Linked DNA regions of Homo sapiens: region 2 is linked to region 1. The links are contacts of gene promoters, found by promoter capture Hi-C in blood cells and fetal thymus (Javierre and others, 2016). All regions are on one chromosome and are shown on one strand. The core of a region is centred on a gene start or on the middle of the fragment in contact, and the rest is flanking DNA. Distances in the headings are between cores, read along the strand shown. Region 1 holds the start of BMP2K (BMP2 inducible kinase). Region 2 overlaps ANTXR2 (ANTXR cell adhesion molecule 2).

What was found. Contacts are between HindIII fragments. The CHiCAGO score rates a contact against its expected background, and 5 or more counts as called.
Region 2: a contact is called between a fragment that was not itself captured here and the fragment with the promoter of BMP2K in region 1, in 1 of 17 cell types (M2 macrophages). The highest score is 5.1, in M2 macrophages.

What each region holds. Positions count from the first base shown.
Region 1 is chr4:78,773,006-78,778,750 of GRCh38, reverse strand. BMP2K (BMP2 inducible kinase) reads right to left here and starts at 2,401. Exons shown (of 16, transcript NM_198892.2): 1 at 2,030-2,401. The coding sequence starts at 2,207. It overlaps BMP2K-DT (BMP2K divergent transcript), which reads left to right and starts at 2,781. Exons shown (of 1, transcript NR_186689.1): 1 at 2,781-5,096. RefSeq lists silencers at 1,497-1,697, 2,059-2,728, 2,819-3,068 and enhancers at 1,272-1,902, 2,535-3,165. The HindIII fragment of the contact is 15,970 bases long and covers 1-5,745 here.
Region 2 is chr4:80,044,197-80,049,845 of GRCh38, reverse strand. The region is part of intron 7 of ANTXR2 (ANTXR cell adhesion molecule 2); the gene reads left to right. Among named protein-coding and RNA genes, the nearest start is that of ANTXR2, 26 kb to the left of the region's middle. The HindIII fragment of the contact is 2,406 bases long and covers 1,002-3,407 here.

The DNA.
Region 1 (5,745 bases), core at 1,152-3,651:
TTGTGCTTAAACATCTTGTCTAAATTGTGGCACTATTTATTAGGAAGGGAGAGGGGATATTAAGCATCTGAAATAAGACCGGCCAGGATCAAAATTAAACTGATTATACATAGACAATTCCAGTTGTGTGGGTGATGGAGACAGAAAAAATACACAAGGAAAGAAAACCTAGGCCTTGGCCTCCCTTCTAGGAAATTAAAGCTGGGGTGTAGGATGGAGAAGTTTCATCTTCTAAAAGGATTTCTTCAGTCCTTGCTTCCTCCTAGCATTTGATTATTGACTTTTCAAGAGAAATGATACATTTATGGCAAAAGTCAGTGGAACACTCTAACAGTGACATTAGCGCTTGAAATAAACTTTTATTCTTCGTTGTGGTTGAACGAACTCTCCTTTTGAAATTCATCTTTATTACTTTCCAAAATTATTTTTTTATTGAAAATGGCTTGCTTAGGGTAGTGATAAGATATGCTTAGGGTAGTGAGTAATACAAGTTACAAATTCAAAATCTAATTTGTGAAATGTCAGTATTTTTTTTCTATTAAATAAAAGACCCATCTGGGATTTAGTGGAATGAGTGAGTGTAACACTACTCAAGCTACATTTCAATTAGTTACTAAAACAATTCAAAGACAGAATATGGCATTTGAGTGAAGAGCCATGTGCTTTTAAAACCTACAACACAATCTAAACCAATAATTGAAATTCATGTGTAATAAAGAGCTAGAAAACTTTATAGTATAGTAAATCTTTTATAAAGACCACTCACCACATATTCATTCTTCTGAAAAACTAAGGATCCTCCTTCTCCCACCTCTCCAAGTTTCGGCTAAGATCATTATTCTGAGCAATGGTTCACGAAACAATGATATGTACACTTGAATAATTCACGATTTCTTTCTCTTTCAAATATTTTATACAAAAATCTTCAGGTTTTTTCCCTTGTGCTAATTTACTGTTGTGTATAGCATTTCAAAAAATACAAGCGGAATCTCAGTCTACTGTTTTCAAACCACATCAACGTCTAACGCTCGGAGAACTGAATCCACTCTTCGATTTTTTTTATCTTAACCATAGAACTTAAAAGGGCCATTTATCAACAAAAAGTATTTCTTTTAAAGTGTTTATTTTGTAGTATCATTTTGCAACTAAAAACTCAAAGGCCAATGAAGCATGCAGCACACAGGGCAAGTATTTTCTACAAGGCAATTATGCCAGAAATACAAAACTAAATTCTAAGTTCTTCTTTTAAAATGGAGTAAACTTTTTTTGTAAGTAGACTTCTACCTGCCGTCATAACCTGTTCCAGATCATGAAGGACCGACCACAAAACCTCGTTAAGTGAAAGTTAACCTGCTTTTATATCACCTTTTAAACTACTATCAAAGAGACATACTGGGAGGGCATGAATAGCACCTTGTCCAACAGAGAAGATTCTAAATAACAAAGATAAATGGGCTCCAAGTTTACCTGCTCCTCAGTGCAACCTACTAACTGAATTTAGAGCAAAGGATCACCTCCAACACGCACACATGCACACAAATACATTGTTTTTCAACAGATGACTGAGCTGCAGCAAAGCCCAGCTTGACACCAGGGGCTGCAGGGTCCTATGCCCTGCAGCGCGGGTGGAGGCTTAGATGAAAAGGCCAACGCATGACACCCGTCTGAGCCACAGCTGGCAGAACGGAGCTTCAACCCTGTTCGATCTGACCCTCTAATGAGTCACTGGCCCAATCGTAACACCAACCCACTTCCTAGCCCGTCTACTACCTATTTTCTCGCGTCAAAAAGCACAGAAAATGATTTAAACTAGGCATGAGAGAACTGTGCACCGGCCGGGGCAGCCAGCGGCAAGAAAAGCCAGCTTAAGAGAGAAAGCCCGAGCCACTCTTTAGGAGCCCCCGCTGGCCCGGCAGCAGAGGAAGAATGGGGTATAAGAGTCAGTCCGGAGGGCGAGGACCCGGAGAAGCCGCCGCCACACCCCAACCCTCCCTCACCTGCCTGTCCGAGCCTCCCCGGGCGCCCGTACCTTCGGCCAGCGACTCTTCCAGGGTGACCTGGTGGCGGCCGACCGCGAACACCCGGACCCCCACGGACGAGCCGCCGGAGCCGCAGCCGGCCCCGGCCCCGGCCCCGCCAGCCCCGCCACCCGCCGCTCCGCCGCCGCTGCCGCCCTCCGACTTGGGCATCCGAGAGAACTTCTTCATGGTCCCGCCGGCGAGCTGGAGGGCGCAGGGAGCGTGCAAGGGCAAGTCCCCGGCCCGGCGCGCAGCCGGGCGTCCGCGAGGGGTCGCCGCCCCTGGCCCGTCCGAGCGTGCTGCGGCCCGCCAAGCCTCACATTCCGCGCTCCCCAAGCGCACAGCCTGGGCCCCGCCGCCCGCTCCGCGGCTCCGCTGCAGCTGCCCGGCTCCCGCAGAGGGCGGTGGGGAGGGCGGGGACGGGGCGGGGCGCGAGGGGGCGGGTCCGAATCCAGGGGCGACGCCGCCGCCTCCGCCAGTGCCCCGGGCGTCCCGCCGCCTCACTAAGCGCCTGGAGCGCGAGCCGGGGTAGAGGAAGAGAGCGAAAGAGGCTGGGCGGCCGGCCCCTCCAGGGAGTGGGCTAGACGTCTCAGGCCACAAACCCGCAGGACCGCAGCCCGTCGCGCCGCCGCCGCCCCGGCCGAACCCGCGCCGCCCGCCACTCGTGGCCGTTGGCGGGGGGGGGGGGGGGGCGCTGCTGCCAACCGCTCACTGAGGCCGGGCGACCCGCGCAGGCGCGCTGCCCGCGCCGCCGGAAGTGACGGTTCCGGCTCTTGTCACGTGGAGGGGGACCAAGGGAGGTGATTGTGGGGGTTGGGGACTAGGGCAAAGTCGGGGGTCCCGGGTCCGGGGTTGCGCCGGGAGGGTACTGGCCAGGCCCGACTTCAAGCAGGGAGGTGGCCCGGGACTGGCTCCCGCGCTGGTCACGCACCGGGGTCCGTCATCTCGACCGGGAGTCGCTGTGCCACTCTAGGGGCTTAAAAATGCCGCCAACAACTTTACCCCTGCTGAGGAACTTCTCGCTTCGTTTCTTAGCCAGTTTTCCAGGCCTTCTCCCTTGAGAGTCTCCTTCCGCTCGCCCACCCTGAGCGTAGGAGGTGGGAGCAGGACGGAACTGGAGTGGATTCCAGTAACTGGACTTCTAAACCGGCTCGGTGTCGTCGCGCTCTGTAGCGGACGCTTGTGCTGGGAAGCGTTTTGCAGTTTATAAATTACTTAGGAGTACTTTAAACATCTCACGCCTGCTGTACCACAGCCATGTGGGGGTATTCAGAACAGGTATTAAGGTCGTTTTGCAGACCATTCATCACTCTTGGCTAAAAGAACTTAACGGAGTCGCCCAAGGTCACACAGCTGGCTCGTGGTAATTGGGGACCATTCTTTGATTCATAATTTTGTGCTTTTGGCCACCCTGAAAAAGTAAGGTCAGATCGTTGAAAAACGGGCAGATTTAAGGCTGTTTGGAAGCAAAAGCGACCACTGCGTTCCCCTCAAATCAAAGAGATTTGCACCCCCTACCAAAAAAAAAAAAAAAAAAAAAAGCCCTGTTGTATCAATTTCATAAACTGCAGGAGTCTCCCGACTGCAGGGTGAAGCAACAAAATAAATATGGGTGTAAAACATTCAGGAGTGGTAGGGAATGGCAAACTGTAGAGCCTGTGTAAAGAGAGCAGCCAATTCTCAGCTCCAGCCTACTTTTCCACAAAAGAAGATAGGCACACACACTGTGCCCAGAGGTTCCAGTTTCTTAAGAGAACCAAAAACCTGGAACTGTTTTCTAATGTGGCATTTCCCTAATTTTTAAAATATAGATCAAATAAATTGTATCTGCAGGACTCCAGTATGCACCTTCTATGAAAGTAGATGAATGTGGTTCTATCCCCACCCCTATTTCTTTATTCTTTTTAATGAGATAACGGGTAGAAACATTAGAAAATGTGCTTAGACAAAAACTTTGAACTTAAAATCCTTGTTCTTTCTTCCCTGCTATTTGAAGAGAAGCTATTTCTGCCAACACTAAAATAGTGCTCTGGATTTAGGCATTTCTGCTACATAACCCACTAAACTAAAATTCTTCATCCAGAGACCTGACGTTTAAAGTAGATTCCAGCTTAGTGGAAGTGAGATTATATGTCAGATGATTGATGTGGTGTGGCAGTTGGGGATTTCCATTTAGAAACAAGCTGACCACTTTCGTTGCTGTGGGGCTTCATTGTGGAGTCTCATTCCTAAATTTGAATTGTTTTTTAAGCAGAATAATGGAAAGATTAAGTCATTTCATGCAATTCAAAACTGGAGTCAGACAAACATACAAAGTTTGGGCCTGATATAACTTCACCTGATCACAACAAGCCTGCTATAATAAGTTTCAAAGTTAGTTTACGAGGATCACTTGAGGCCAGGAGTTCAAAACCAGCATGGTCAACATAACAAGACCTCATCTCTTTAAAAAAAAAAAAAAAAAAAATTAAAAATTAGCCAGGTATGGTGGTGGTGCACCTGTAATCCCAGCTACTCAGGAGGCTGAGGCAGGAGGATCGCTTGAACCAAGGAGTTCAAGGCTGCAGTGCGCTATGATGGCACTGGTGCACTCCAGGCTGGGTGTCTCTTAAAAACAAACAAAAGTTTGACCAGTCAAAGTGGCTTGCACCTATAATCCCAGCACTTTGGGAAGCCGAGGTGGGTGGATTGCTTGAACTCAGGAGTTCAAGACCAACCTGGGCAATATGGTGAGACCTTCCATCTCTATCAAAAATACAAAAATTAGCTGGGCTTGGTGGGGTGGCGCAGGCCTGTGGTCCCTGCTACTTGGGAAGCTGAGGTGCGTGGATCACTGGAGCCAAGGAAGTCGAGGCTGCAGTGAGCCATGATAGCATCAGCTGCACTCCAGCCTGGACAACAGAGGAAGACACTGTCTCTAAGTAAATAAATAAGTCAATTTACAATTAATGTGGTAAAGATTACTTGTATGTACCAATGTAACTTGACTTTTGATATTGAAATGTATAATTATAATAAATGTATAATTAAATGTGTAATAATGTATAGACCCCCTCTGAAAGACGAGGGTAACACCAAGCAATATGTTCTTTGATTTTTCTCACCAAGCATGTGACAAAATTTGGATATCCTCCCATCTTTATAGTACGTTAACGTCACAATATTCTGTAACACTCAATAACAAACATATAACTTAAAAATGCAAAGACTACTAACAATCAAAAACATTAGAAAGGTGTGGTAGTGCACACCTATGGTCCCAGCTACTCAAGAGGCTTAGGCAGGAGGATCGTTTGAGCCCAGGAGGTTGAGACTGCAGTGAGCTGTGATCACACCACTGCACTCCAGCTTGGGTGACAGAGCAAGACCCTCCCAAAAAAAAGCAAAAATGTTGTAGAGTATTTCCCCTCTTATCCAGGAAGGATACATTCCAAGACTCCCAGTAAATGCCTGAAAGTGAGGATAGTAACCAAACCATCTATATATAATGTTTTTTCCTATATATACATACCTTTGATAAGGTTCAGGGTTTAAGTTAGGTACAGTAAGAGGTTAACAACAATAATAAATTAGAACAATTATAACAATTTCGTGGATGGAAGATTCATTTTTACTGTAGATCTTAGCAACCTCAGCATATGATTTTTTTTAATTAAGTTGAGAACTTCACCTTTTCATTTAAGGAAAGCACTTTATGGCTTCTCCTTGGCATATTCGAATTGCTAGC
Region 2 (5,649 bases), core at 955-3,454, 1.3 Mb before region 1:
TGGGCAGTGAAACTGGAAGTAAAACGTTAAATTTGGGAAGCATTAAAATATTAGTAGAATTTGAGAGCTCACTGGCTATAGGGTTCAAGAGACAGAGAGAGGAGTCAAAAGTAACTTGGGCATTCTGTCCCTGACTAAGATGAATGACTAAGAATAGAGCAAAAACTGTTTTTACAGAGGGGACAAGAGGGTTATTGTACAAAATGGAAGAAGGCATAGGGCAGAGGGGGAAGTTGATTTGAGCTTGAGAACAAAAGCCCAGTGGGGGATATCCTTTAGGGAGTTAGAGGCCAGGTGGAATGGAAAGGCTAGAAAACCCTACTGTCATTATGCTTCCTCATTTTCTTTCTCCCCTCCCATTGTCCACAGACACAAGCACATATATATATTCTCTTTTTCACTTTCCACTTCAGATTATCTTTAAATCCTTGGAATGTTAAATTATTTTTGTGTTCTTGGGAAGGTGATTGCATGACTTATATTTGAAAATGAAATTTTATTTGAACTAGTAAAGGTCAGACTGAGATGTGAGTACCCTGTGGGTTCTAGTTCAATGTTTCATAATGCAGACTATGGAAGATAACATTAAAAATAAAAGAAAACCACAGATTGGTGAATAATATGGAAAGAATAAAAATCAAAATGTTCTGTGCCCTTCCTTGTGTAAAAACAGGACCATGGGATGTTTCACTATTTGGAATTATTCCCACATTTTTTTTAAGAATACCTCAGAAAGTATTAAGCAGAAAGAAATAAATCAGTTGTGAAGCATGTTTTATAAATAACCCTTGTCCAAAAGAATTGAGAACACTACATCCTAGGTGATGGTAGTTAATGCCAGAGTTTCTAAGTTTTTAATGGGAAAGTATACAAGCATAAATAGGAAGGGAACGATCATCCATACATTTAGGACATTTAAATAAACCTGAATTAGATAGTTTCTAAAGGGAAAAGTGAAATTTCAAAAAGTACCTACATTCATAGTGCTGGAGATATAAGCTTCATTTCACTTTTGGAGTGGAATTTTTTTCTCAGCAATGTCTGTTGTTGTTTGTTCTTAGAAAAATATCTAAGAAGAAAAGTGTCTAACACTATATTTTATATTGTCTAACACTATATTTTAATGGAATGAGAAGACATTGCAAACACATTTTCTCTTAAGGCAAATCATTTTCATAGAAGAGGGAACCTAATAAACACTCTGATAATACCTTAGCTTAAGTGATTTTAGCACACTCTGCTATGAATGTTGACCACTTAGTTGTGAAAACTTCTATTTGTAAAATTACGGTTTGATGAAAAACCTGAAGCCTGAGCAACTGTAAAGATACATTCATAGGAGAAACAAAAATGGTAGGACTTACTCAAAACTGGAAACCAATTTTCAGGACTCCTGTTAAAAAGGACTGGCTATAATGTAAGAATAACTGTATATCAGATTATTCTAGGCTTCTCTTTGTCCAAGGATCATTAGCGCTGAATGTAGATGAGGTATTTCATTATAATAACTTTCACATTAATGGTATGAAGGTTGAAATTGTATTGCCCCAACTCCTGTTTTTGTTTTTTTTTTTTTTTACCTAATGCTTAATCTAGTGTTGGGTAAGTAGTCATTGCTTAATTCATATTTCTGAATTATAAGTAAATAAAATCTATGCAAGTTTTTGAAAATATTCTTATATTTTTATAATATAGTTATGGTATATTGGAGCATTAAAAATTAACCTCTGATTCCATGTGCATTAGATAAATAAATAAAATGAATAAAAATCTATGCAAGTTCTTAAAAATGTTTTTATATTTTTCTAATGTAGTTATGGTATATTTGAACATTAGATAATTAACCCCTGATTTCATATAAATTTGATTTCATCCTCATATTTATGTTTCACTGTATTAAGACTCTTTTGATTTCACATGACAAGAACTCAGTTAATAATAGTTTAAGGAAAAGAAAAATAGAATGTTACTGGCCTGTAACTAGGTGGTCCAGAGAGGGAAATTACCTCAGGTACAGCTGGATCCAAGGAATCAATCATGTTGTCAGGGTCTTCTCTCTCAGTAAGTTTTGCCTATGTTTCTATTTGCCTCATTCCTTGTTTAGATGAATGGTGGTGAACTGTAATTGCAAAAGGAGGCTTACATGGTCCTCAGCAAGTATATTGGAAAGTGAGGGGTGTTGTCTTTGCATCAGTGTATAGGGTCCCAGATAAGAACTCTAATTGATTCGGTTGAGTCATGAGCTCATTCCTGTACCAATTCTGTTGGGGGCAAGGGAGAGAGGGAGAAGAAGGCACTGTGATTCACAGCCTCACTAGGACCACATGGAGTGGAAAAGAGTTTCCCAAATAGAAAGGAGCACTATTCATAGAAGTGTAAGGGTGCAAAAGTGTCCAGGGTAGGAACAAAAAAATCAGTAGTGATGACAGCTCACTATATTCAAATACATTTAAAATATTTTGACATATATTCTAAGAAGACACCCCATTCCTCCGAAATCCCACTTGATAATAAACATAGAAAGTTTCCTTTAAATTATTCATTTTATTAACTGATCTTATTTTGGCCTCTACTGTCCAAAGCTGTATTTGTATTTGCATGAAAATATTCCCTAATAATATTATTATTTTCTTTTTTTTAAAAAAAATTTGGTTGGGATTGTAGTTTAAGAAAATTAAATCCACTTTGAATAAATAAGTACAGCTTTGTGATAGTTTGTGAGAAAACTAAACTAAACTGATGACATTTGGTTACACAGATAAAATGAAATTCCAAATTTTAATTTCTTAACATTAACCTGTTGGACTATAAAAGGTGTCCTACAGAGGCTTACCTGCTCTTAAAAGCAGATTTAATTGAGTGGAAGGAAATTGAACAGGTGCAGAAAATGGTTAATATTTGTCACCAAATGTACCATTTGGTGTACATTATGAGGAAAAATGTACAATTTCTCAATTATACTTCATTTTCTCCAAATATAATAATTCTCAGTTGATTCAGAAGCATTTGTTGGGTACTGGGCTGTGTTCAAGACACTTTGCTGTGTTTTGTATTACCAAAATGGGTATGGTCCCCAAACTCTTCAGAGCTTACAATTTTTAGGATGTGTATTTGGAAAATTAATAGAAGAATTAGTAAGATATTTTTTCTATTATTGTTGCATAGGGAAACATTTCATTTGCCATCCTGGATTTCTGAAAAATCAAATGGAATAAATATAGACTAAGACTGCTTGGCAGATATACTTCATGTCTTAGTAAAACAAGAAAGTGGGCAAATAAGGCTAATACAAAATAATGTTTGCATCAGAGTGAAAATTATACCATGAACAAGTTTCTTCAAATTCTGAAATAGTCTATTTATTATTATTTTATCTCATAAGTTCAAGGCAGTTTTTATAGGAAGCTTATTTATTTTCTAAGCTAGCATTAAATGATTATTTTGAGTTTGTGGTGACCAAAGACAACAACGACAACAGCAAAACCAAAAAGTAGTGGCAGATAAACTTGTTTCCAATCACAAACTATGCATTTTTGGAATTTTTTCTATATTGTAATGAAACAGCAAGACTGCTAATATGATTTATTTTAAATATCAGAATTGTGAGATGTGGAAGAAACTAAAGTTTTAAAAAAGATTTATTATATGAGAGTATGTTCATCAACAATGTAATCAGAACTATCCATCTGTTTTGTTTGGAGCTCAGAAGACTAAAAGACAATGAGTATGATTTACCTTCTTCCACAGTTCTCTTAGGGTAAAAGTTTGTTTAGAAATTTGTCATGTGTGCTTTTATTCCTTGCTTACTTGCAAGACAGAAGAGAATCCATATTTAGAAACTAGTCAGAGTGGTGTGTGCTGTATTGAGCAACTGATATTTTGAAGCTCTAAGCATTTTTAAGGAATGAACTCAACCAAAACATGTGATTATAAAATAGCAATTGTTCTTAGTTGAAGTATTACCCCTTAGAGAAAAATATATTTGGCTGGGGTGTTTGGAAGCCATAGAAAAAATAAAAATCACACATCTGAATATTAAAAGGTGAAAAGGAAACAAGACAAGAGGATGAGAAACACCTTTCCAGTTGTTTTTGCTGCTTATGTTATGCAGTTGGATGTCTAATTACTAAAGCTTCATTTTGTTAGACCTTTAAAACTAATACTTTTCATATATTTTCTCCTGATTTAAACTTGAAATCTTTTTGTATTGGGGATGAATCCTTTAGTGTTTAAAGCTGCTCAATGAGTCAGGAAAAAAAAAAAAAACCTTGCTTTTTTAGACTCTACTACCCTTGCCAATATTTTCTGACATGCTGTGGGTCATGGAAATTGGCAGTTTCTATCTGTTAAGGACACACCTGGAGCACTTGTAAATTATTTGTGATGATCGGTTGCCAGTGATGTTATAGATCCAAAATCAGTGTCAAAAAATTCTTGCTGAGGTGAATATTTAGAATTTTTAATAGATTTGTAAAAATTTTGGAGAACTTTAGGTAGCACATGTGAATGTATATATGAAGAAATAATCTATTTTGGGGAGGAAAAAGCCTTATTATTTAGAGTTGATCCTAAAAAATGTTATTACAGAGGAAACCATTTAATGGGAGTTAATACCCCTTTTCTCTTTTTATATATTCTACCTAAAATAAGACTTTAAAAAGAAGATAACACATAACTTAAGTTTGTTTCTCTTCATGTTGTTTTTGTTTTTGTTTAGTTTTGCATCTGGTCCAATATGCCTTATAGGTACTATTAATTACCAAAATTTGAATTTATCCAAATAATTTTTTTCACTGTGTGTAACTGAAAATATGCTTTGATTAATTCAAATAACTTCTCAGTAAGCTCTGTATCTTTTTACATGCATAACTCTTAGTGTTATATGCTCTGTTTTTTATGTTATAGTCATAATGGCCATGCTTCTTATTAAAAAGTTTTGCATTTACTTTTTAATTAAATAGAATAAACATTCATTGAGTAGCTGCTATTCATAAGATATTGCGCTATATACTTTTTATATTAGATTGAATTTTGAATATGTGGTGTTATTCATTTTAAAAGTTTTTATTTCATTCTTCTGGAATGGACTGCATTCTGTTTTCCAGATATAGTATCCTTCCTGTTGCCACTTAGAAATTAGAAAAAAAATATGGATTTTAAAATATGTCTAGGCTTATATTAATTGTAGGAGGTGTTTTTGTTTTGGTCAAGCTGGGTGGTTGATCTTCAAGTCCTAAGGTCTAGCTCATAGATGTTTCTCTCAAATTCAACATAAACTTCAAAGACAACATAGGTCCTAAATAATATTTTGATTTTATCTCCCCATCTTAATTTATTGCATGATAAATTATTATCTTGGATCGACACCAACTACAACTCTCCACAAATCCCATATTACTTTAAATACCAGAAGAAAAGGCCATAACTATATCCATTGTGTATGTTTTTCAGGACATGATATTGCTTTTATTACCTCTTATGTGTCCTACGTTTGTTATTATAGCATGTGTCTTTTATGTAAACATATTCAGGAACTTACAAGATCTCAATCAAAGTATGATTCCACATGTATCATGAAACCTCTAAGAAAGAAGAAATTAAGTCAAGGTTCTCACAAAACTCATGCCTTCTGATGATTTCTGGTTATTT